Regions from separate parts of the Homo sapiens genome. Here all the other regions are linked to region 2. The links are contacts of gene promoters, found by promoter capture Hi-C in blood cells and fetal thymus (Javierre and others, 2016). All regions are on one chromosome and are shown on one strand. The core of a region is centred on a gene start or on the middle of the fragment in contact, and the rest is flanking DNA. Distances in the headings are between cores, read along the strand shown.

Evidence for each region. Contacts are between HindIII fragments. The CHiCAGO score rates a contact against its expected background, and 5 or more counts as called.
Region 1: a fragment that was not itself captured here is called in contact with the fragment with the promoter of RNF125 in region 2 in 1 of 17 cell types (total CD8 T cells); the score reaches 6.8 in total CD8 T cells.
Region 3: a contact is called between a fragment that was not itself captured here and the fragment with the promoter of RNF125 in region 2, in 1 of 17 cell types (naive CD8 T cells). The highest score is 5.4, in naive CD8 T cells.

The regions. Positions count from the first base shown.
Region 1 is chr18:32,129,398-32,132,097 of GRCh38, reverse strand. It overlaps RNF138 (ring finger protein 138), which reads right to left. Exons shown (of 8, transcript NM_016271.5): 8 at 537-2,700. Among named protein-coding and RNA genes, the nearest start is that of RNF138, 39 kb to the right of the region's middle. RefSeq lists a silencer at 1-46. The HindIII fragment of the contact is 2,037 bases long and covers 277-2,313 here.
Region 2 is chr18:32,017,520-32,020,219 of GRCh38, reverse strand. It overlaps RNF125 (ring finger protein 125), which reads right to left and starts at 1,395. Exons shown (of 6, transcript NM_017831.4): 1 at 1,193-1,395. The coding sequence starts at 1,356. RefSeq lists enhancers at 634-683, 328-1,200, 1,500-1,794, 1,201-2,073 and a silencer at 1,500-1,794. The HindIII fragment of the contact is 17,285 bases long and covers 1-2,700 here.
Region 3 is chr18:31,908,401-31,911,100 of GRCh38, reverse strand. TRAPPC8 (trafficking protein particle complex subunit 8) reads left to right here. Exons shown (of 29, transcript NM_014939.5): 6 at 1,341-1,434; 7 at 2,091-2,347; 8 at 2,683-2,700. Among named protein-coding and RNA genes, the nearest start is that of TRAPPC8, 33 kb to the left of the region's middle. The HindIII fragment of the contact is 2,641 bases long and covers 1-2,604 here.

The DNA of each region.
Region 1 (2,700 bases), core at 46-2,545, 110 kb before region 2:
GTCTGAGTTTTATAGTATCTGTATTTACATGTTTTCTGGGTCACACCTTTTCTACATAGTATGCTAAAAAGTCACGCTTCTACAAGGGGTTTGAGTAGCAGCTGTTAAGGGGTTTCTGTAGAAGTTATGATGTATTGAAGATCATAATTAATACTTACCAAGCAACCCATACAAGGTATATGACATTGTATTTGGCAACATAGTCTTATAACCCTGGTATCTTACTTAAAAGTACTATCTATCTCCATATAAAAGTGTTTATTAAGCAAATAAGCTTTCTGCCTAGCTGCTAACAGGGCTTGAAAATCTTGCTCCGCAGACACTTCATAAAATTGCTTTATAAGGTGATTAACATTTGAAATGGATAAAAATAAATAGGTTTATAAAGTTAAATCTGACATATAGCACCAGCATGTGGTAGCTTTTTCTTATCCACTTTTTTAAGTGCAAAATAATGGGTTATCTCCTACGTCTTTCAGTGTGAATTATGAGAGTTAAATGTTTGCCTCCAGACAAATTTTAATTAGACACACAAGTAGGAGAAAACCACTTTTAATTGAAAAATAAAGCAATACATCTCAAATAAGACTCTGTTTTAACAATAAAACTGTAATTTGTTGAAATAGCTTTCCTAAGTGGTATTGTGAAATTTAGGTATTGGAGTATCAATACAATTCCCTCCTTTAATTCTGACTCAGCTATAAGTAATATTAAAAATAAACTTTTCCCCATAAATTTAATTTCCATAAATCTGTAAAGTCTATCCCTATTCCCAATGCACTGACAAAAAGAGGGGAAATTTTAAACAATCATTTTCATACTGAGAAATTCTCAGATAAAAGCAAATAAAGTATTTTCCTTATGAAAAAGCTGATATGTGAGACACACAAGACTATCAATGATATTTAACTCATTCACAAAACTTTAAAACACAATTCCATCAAGATGACCTCTACTACAATTTTCCTTTAAAGAAGTTCCCAAATCCCAGAATGGTTTAACTTGACATATTGGATGTATTAAACTTTGCAAATCCCAGAATGGTTTAACTTGACATATTGGATGTATTAAACTTTGCAAATCCCAGAATGGTTTAACTTGACATATTGGATGTATTAAACTTTGAAAGAAACTATGAAAGTTATTGCTTTAAACTGGAAAACACTATGGTCAAAAGTCTTAAAAAGGAGCTGTTTTTTAAATTACACCCATGTAACTGAAAGAAAATGCTCAAGCACACACATAGTAAACACCACTCTTTAAAATGACAGAACAAAGGCGTATGTTCATTAAGATGTATGGCTTTTCTTGTGGTTGTTATTACAATCCATAAATAAAGTCTTTACTGTTTGACTGAAAAAGGTTTTTACAAAACTGCACTTCCAAAATTAACATTTTTATTAAATCAAGTTAAAAAAAATGTTCAGTGTAGAAAAGTCAACAAGGGTTTTAACAAAACCAAAATATACCTTTTTATACAATATATGTATATATTAGCAGCAAACTACTTCTGAGATTCTCTTTCTTTTATGTTCTTCTAGTTATTTTAAAGAAAGCATAAACAATGTATATTAGTATGGAATGTCAGCAAATCCACTCTTAGTCCTTTATTCTGTGATTTGGGCCTTCTACAAAATACTTTGTGATTCTCACTAATGAATATTAAGAACATACCCAATTTTAACTAAAAAGTAGTGAAACAGTGGTTGGTAGAATCTTTCTCACTATATCACGGTCACACATTATATTTGAGAATAACAAATGAGCACCATATAAACAGGTAATTGTGTGTGTGTAAACTCAATTTTTAAGGTGTAATAGTAGCCAACTAGATAACTTAGCACTGTGACTATCACTTTTTAAAAATTTGGTGATATACAAAATTTTAAACAAATCAGATAAACACTTCAACCCCCTATTGCTTGTCCATTTAAAAAATCCTTAATAGAAATTCTATATATAACCTGACAAACTGCATACACACATATGTGTATATATACACACAAAAGTATATGTATATATACATCTTTAGCTTTGAATAAATTTCTAAACTGAGATGAAGCCAAACCTCTCATTTATATCTTCTAGAATACAATATCACCAACTGAAAGTTTCTAATAAGAGTTTCAACTTAGTTAATCAGAAATACTGGCTACTGAAAATTCTGAGGCCAAAGAGCTGTTATTCAGCTTAGTATATTCTAGGCTTACAAATCAGTCAAAGACTGAAATTATCAAATGCCCATGAAAGAAAGAAATTTTTCTCTTTGTATTTCCTTCTAATAACAAAAAGAAAATATCTTTACAACAAGCTTTCACTTTTTAAAGAATTAAAATTATTACAGAAATCTCACTAGTCTTCAAAAATAGTAAATGTTATATAAATACAATTTTCTTATAGTTGAATTTTTCAGCTAGAACCTGCATTTAAAAAATTTCCTTTGGATTATTCCATTTAGCACTTCAAGTTTCTATTCTGCAACTCTAATAATAACTGGCTCAGATTTGTTAGGTTATATCAATCACATCGTTCAAAATTTGCTACTGTGTGTTAAATGTGTACAATAATAAAGTAAATGGGAGGAATGCATCAAATTTCAAAAGCAACATAATAATGAAAAATTCAAAAATAATATTACAAAAAGATAAAGTACAACAGGGATTCTCTTTCACCGTTACATTAGTGAAACATCTTTTTTAC
Region 2 (2,700 bases), core at 146-2,645:
AAAAACTAGCCGGGTGTGGGGGTGGGCGCCTGTAATCCCAGCAACTCGGGAGGCTGAGGCAGGAGACTCACTTGAGCCTGGGAGGCGGAGGTTGCAGTGGGCGGAGGTTGCAGTGAGCCGAGATAGCACCACCGCACTCCAGCCTGGGCGACAGAGCCAGACTACGTCTCTCTCTCTCTCTCTCAAACACACACACACACACACACACACACACACAGTAAACAGAGAGCACAAATTCACAGCTCCAACTCCACCAGTTATTCAAACACACATTAAGGATGTGCCAATTTTATATAGGGACTTTGTTTTTAAATTCTTCTTAGAAACGACCACGGCTTTGCACCAACTGTGAGTTTTAGCTAAGTACTATGCGGTTTTGAGAAAGTTATTTTACTCTGTAATTTCCGCCGGTTTGGAGAGACCGTGCGTAAAGCAGGTAGCCTGCCACCTCCTGTTACGTTGTGGCTGGGTTTTGAAGGAGTACATTCAGGGGCTTGGCGGCTAACGTCCAAGCCCCACCCTAGCAGGTTGTTAAACTCTAACAACTGTGGAAAGTCACTCGGAAGCTCCAGTTTGACTTGCCCTTTGAGGGGCTGGGTGTCTGTGTTGGGAAAGGGTAGCAGGGGTGGGGGTGGAAAGACACTTTGCACAGATCCTTGTTTGCTTAAGACGAGCCTCTGTGGGCATTCTGGGAACACGTGCACAGCTCCAGCAAAACAAAACGGACCCGGGTTTCTGGGGCAGAGGGAAGCGCAGCCCGTTCTACCGTGTTCAGCGGGGTAACTGCGCTTTGCGGGAGCCCCTGCCTTGTAGCTGGAGCTCGTTTCCTTTCCGTGCCTGGGCGAGCGCTGGTTCTCCAGCCAAGAGCACCCTCCCCAGTTGGCGAGCCCTGGCTCTGGGCGGGACCCGTGCCTGGATCCCCTTCTCTGGAGTTCCGCACCTGGGCTTCGGGAGCTGAAAGCGCAAGGGGGCTACAGGACCCGCTTGTTTATTTTTTCTCCTCCCGAAATCCTGTGTCACCTTCCGACCCGCGTTTTCCCCGTGGTCCTGCATCCGACGGGTCCAGGTTTCTCCCTGCAGCAATTTCCTAAGAGGCTGTCTTCCGTCCCCCTCCTTCCCCACACCATGCCCTCAGCTTCCCCACATCGCCCTCCTTAGGGGTGGGCGCAAACCGAGCTCCCCTGGAACTTACACGTGGCCACAGCGGGTCCGGACAGGCTGGTGTAACACCTCAAGGCACACGGCGCAGTCGAAGGACGTGACGGGCAACTCCGGGTCCCTCCTGCGCTCCAGGGCCCGCGCGGTGGCAGAGGCGGGCGCCGATTTGCCGCTGTCGGTGCTCAGCACGGAGCCCATCGCTGTGCCTCTCGCCCAGACAGCTGCGAAGCACTCAGTGCCTGCCGCAGGGTTGTTTTGTTGCCGTGCGGTGGAGGAAGGAAGTCCCGGCCCAGCTGCGATCGCCGCCTCCCAGCTCTCCCAGCTCGCGCAGCCCAGAAGCCACCTCCGCCGCTGCGCCCAACCCTGGTCTAGGGCAGGGCGAGCGCGCGGCCGCGGGGCTGAGATCTTCGGCAAGCCGCCTAGGTTAAGGCGCGGAGGCGGAGGCGGCAGCCGCCCCGTGCTCTGTCTTGTGGTATTGGGAGGATTGAAACCTGAAACCTCAACTGCAGAGAAGAGGACTTGAGGCAGCAGTAAACCTTCCAAGCTATCACACACAGCTGCTTTCCCCACTGTCAGAAGTTAAGTGCGGGCGTGGCCATGCTTAATGATAATCAGAGAACAGCCGCTTTTAAGGTGAAGTGGAAGACCATCCTCCACTGTTGTCATCACAATAAGCTGCAAAAATGACCTATGACCTATGATTGGGCGTCTCCTAAGACGGTGCTATCGCTACTCTGTCATCCAATCAATAGTCCATTAATGGAGAGATAGCCTGGGTAGTGGAAAGAGTCCTGGAGATTAGGATTCCAATCTTACCTCTCCTACAGAGATTCTAGTGCTAAACCCTGCCATCTCCAGTTTCCTCTGCGGCTCAGGATTTCCTCTGTTGTTTGTACGCTCCCCACCCCGCCCTTTAAACATGATCAGCCAGGCGCGGTGGCCCACGCCTGTAATTCCAACACTTTGGGAGGCCGAGGCGGGCTTGAAACTCCTGCTTGAGGGCAGGAGTTCGAGACCAGCCTGGCCAACATGGTGAAACCCCGTCGCTGCTAATAATACAAAAATTAGCCGGGCGTTAATTTACACTTTTTACGAAGACTTATTTAGTGCCCACTGCACGCCAGACTCGGTTCTAGTGATGAAGACACAATCGTCAACAAGCAAACAAAATCCCAGTTCTCACAGAACTTACTTTAAAAAACAAAAACAAAACTTTGAGATAATTATAGATTCACATACAGTTGTAAGAATAGTACATAGTATATAATACACATATACAATAATATATAATATAACACATGGGATATAATAACGCATATAATACATGTACGTATTTAGCAGGCCATAAACTTCACCCAGGCTTTACTTTTAATTAGGAGATATAGGCCGGGTACCGTGGCTCACGCCTGTAATTTCAGCACTTTGGGAGGCTGAGGTGGGAGGATCACTTGAGCACGGGAGCCAAGATCACACTACTGCACTCCGTCCTGTGCGACAGAGTGAGACCATGTCTCAAAAAACAAACCAAGCCGGGGCAGTGGC
Region 3 (2,700 bases), core at 35-2,534, 110 kb after region 2:
ATCTGTTTATTTGCTTTATTTTTCTGTCTCATAAATGGAATCTTTAAATCTAAATGTAGTGCTATCATGGTATTTTACTGACTTTAGTATTGAGGTGATTACTGACGTTCTTTAAGATAATGCTGGGGAAAAGCAAAGAAGTACCAGTTGGATGTGAAGGAACTTTATTTTTAAAAATGGTCTTTTAGGGGCCATTCTAAGAATAAGAACAGTACTGAAAAAAATACACTTTAGAGTTCAGTCACCTAAGGTTGTGAAGGGGAACATGAAGAAGATTGTGCAGTATGAGAACTTTTAGCAGAAAGCAGAAATATCAGAAATCTATGCCTTAGCATCCTAGAAGCTCAAAGTTGGAGAATAGTTTAGAGGTTTTACATCCAATGCTTGATCTAATGCTTTAATTTCTTTAAACTTACGAATGACTGCGTCTGTTGACAGTACTCACTGTATTCTTATTAAGTGACCTATTGCATGTCTGATCACCCAAAAATTCTCTCATTTTGCTTAAGGATCAATAAAAAATTCTTGACCTTTGCTTGTACGCTTGATCCTTTGGGAGTGACTATGTTAGTTTTCCATTAAGACAACTTTCAAAATATAGAAGGATAATTCTCATGTCCTCTTTTATATTTTTCCAGTCTAAATATGCCTAGTTTCTGCAACTCTTTCTCAAGGAGTGGCTTCAGACTTTCTTGTCCTGGTCACTTTCTTCTTGAGTTCTAGTTTATGTAAATTCCCTCAAAGTGTGACACTCAGAATAATACATCATATTTACTGGTCTTGTAGAGTAGTCTGGGTATTTTTAGTTTAAGTGTTTTTTTGTTAACTGAGAAACCAGTTCCTTTGCACAAATAAACGTTGCGTTAGATATTTTTCTAAAACACTTCAGTATATTCAGAATTCACTCCAACCTGCTTACACTGTGACCCAAAGAATTTCATATCTGTGCCTCTCTTCTTTCCCCGTCTGACTCTAGTAGTCCATCTCTCTTGCCATTATTCCTTACTTAAGAGGCATAAGCATATGTATGTGCTTATATGAACACTCGTGTATATACATATCATATATAAGTAGATATCCTGAGAGATAATTTGAATTAAGAAGAATTAGGATAGTAGCTTGAGTGTGAAAGGGGATTTAAGAATATAGTAGGTGTGAGTTGGAGTGATAGAATAAGATCCATGGAAGAAGTTATGAATTTGGAGGACGAGAAAATGCTCACTGTAGCAAATAAATGAGGCCAACAGTTAGCAGAGTAACCATAGTTGTTGATGGATTTGATAGTATATTAAGTATGATTAAGTATAACTGCTAATGCTTTTTAAATTTTATTTTGATAGGAATCATATGAAGATGGCCCTTGTACTATAACTTCAAATAAGAATTCTGATAATAACTTGCTTTCATTGGATGGATTAGATAACGAAGTCAAAGGTCTTGATATATTTTCTCTAAGTTTCTCTTTTGATTGAAAATATGCACTGTTGTCAGATCATGCTAACCTTTATAGATAAAAGATGGGGGAAATTTTTCATAATACAGAAAGATATTGGGCAGGTTAGTTTTTCTTCTGAAGATTTTACTGAGCTACTTGAGTTTGTTTTTGACACTTAAAAATTTGTTTTATATGAGTAGTGTATAGATTTCTTTTAAAATATTTTGTAGAAAGCAAGGGAAGATGTGATGCACAGCATTAATTATTTAAAAATTTACATGATTTTGAGAGCTTTATTTCTGACTTTATGATTTTTGTAATGATAACAAATTTTTTTTGTTATATTTTTTCTTACGGCTTAGTTGTACTATTTAAAAGTCATTCTTTATATTATTTAAAATAAAGTATTTTTCTCCATTTCCTGGTTTATACCGATTTTCAAATTACTAATACAGGTACCAAAACAAATATTAACTCAAGCTCATTAATTTTGGGGCTGGGGGATGTTACTGCTGTTTTATCTTAGACATTTACCTATACTGAAAGATAAAGGATTTTAACATTCTGCTTTTTTTTTTTCTTTAGCAGTATGGTAGTATTAGCACTGTTTTCTGTTGCATTCTGAGAGTAAAAGAAATAATCTCTTTTTCAGTAGATGGCTTACCAAATAACTTTAGAGCTCACCCACTTCAGTTGGAGCAATCCAGTGACCCTTCTAACAGTATTGATGGCCCAGATCATCTAAGATCTGCTTCATCGTTACATGAAACAAAGAAAGGAAATACTGGAATAATTCATGGTGCATGTTTAACACTTACTGATCATGATAGAATTCGACAGTTTATACAAGAGTTCACATTTCGGGGCCTTTTGCCACATATAGAGAAAACAATTAGGCAATTAAACGATCAGGTAAGGTTTGATTTTTTGGATTAGTATTTTAAAAATTTAAGTAAATAGTAAATTTAAGAATTATTAAACGTATTTGAAGTTTTGTTTTATTTTCGTTTTAAGATAGGCCAATATTAAGACTTCCCAAAATTACTATCAATGATGAAATTCTGTTCAACTCTAGAAGAGGCTTATTCATTTTCAATAGGATTTTGCCAGCATATTGGACAGTTTTCTTTAAATCAGTTTTATTAAAATGAACATTTGCTATTAAAGCTTTTTAGTTAAAATTTTTTTATGTAAAGGAAAAATACTAAATTCTTTGTTTGTCAACATATTTAATCTCTTTTTTAAAGCTAATATCAAGAAAAGGT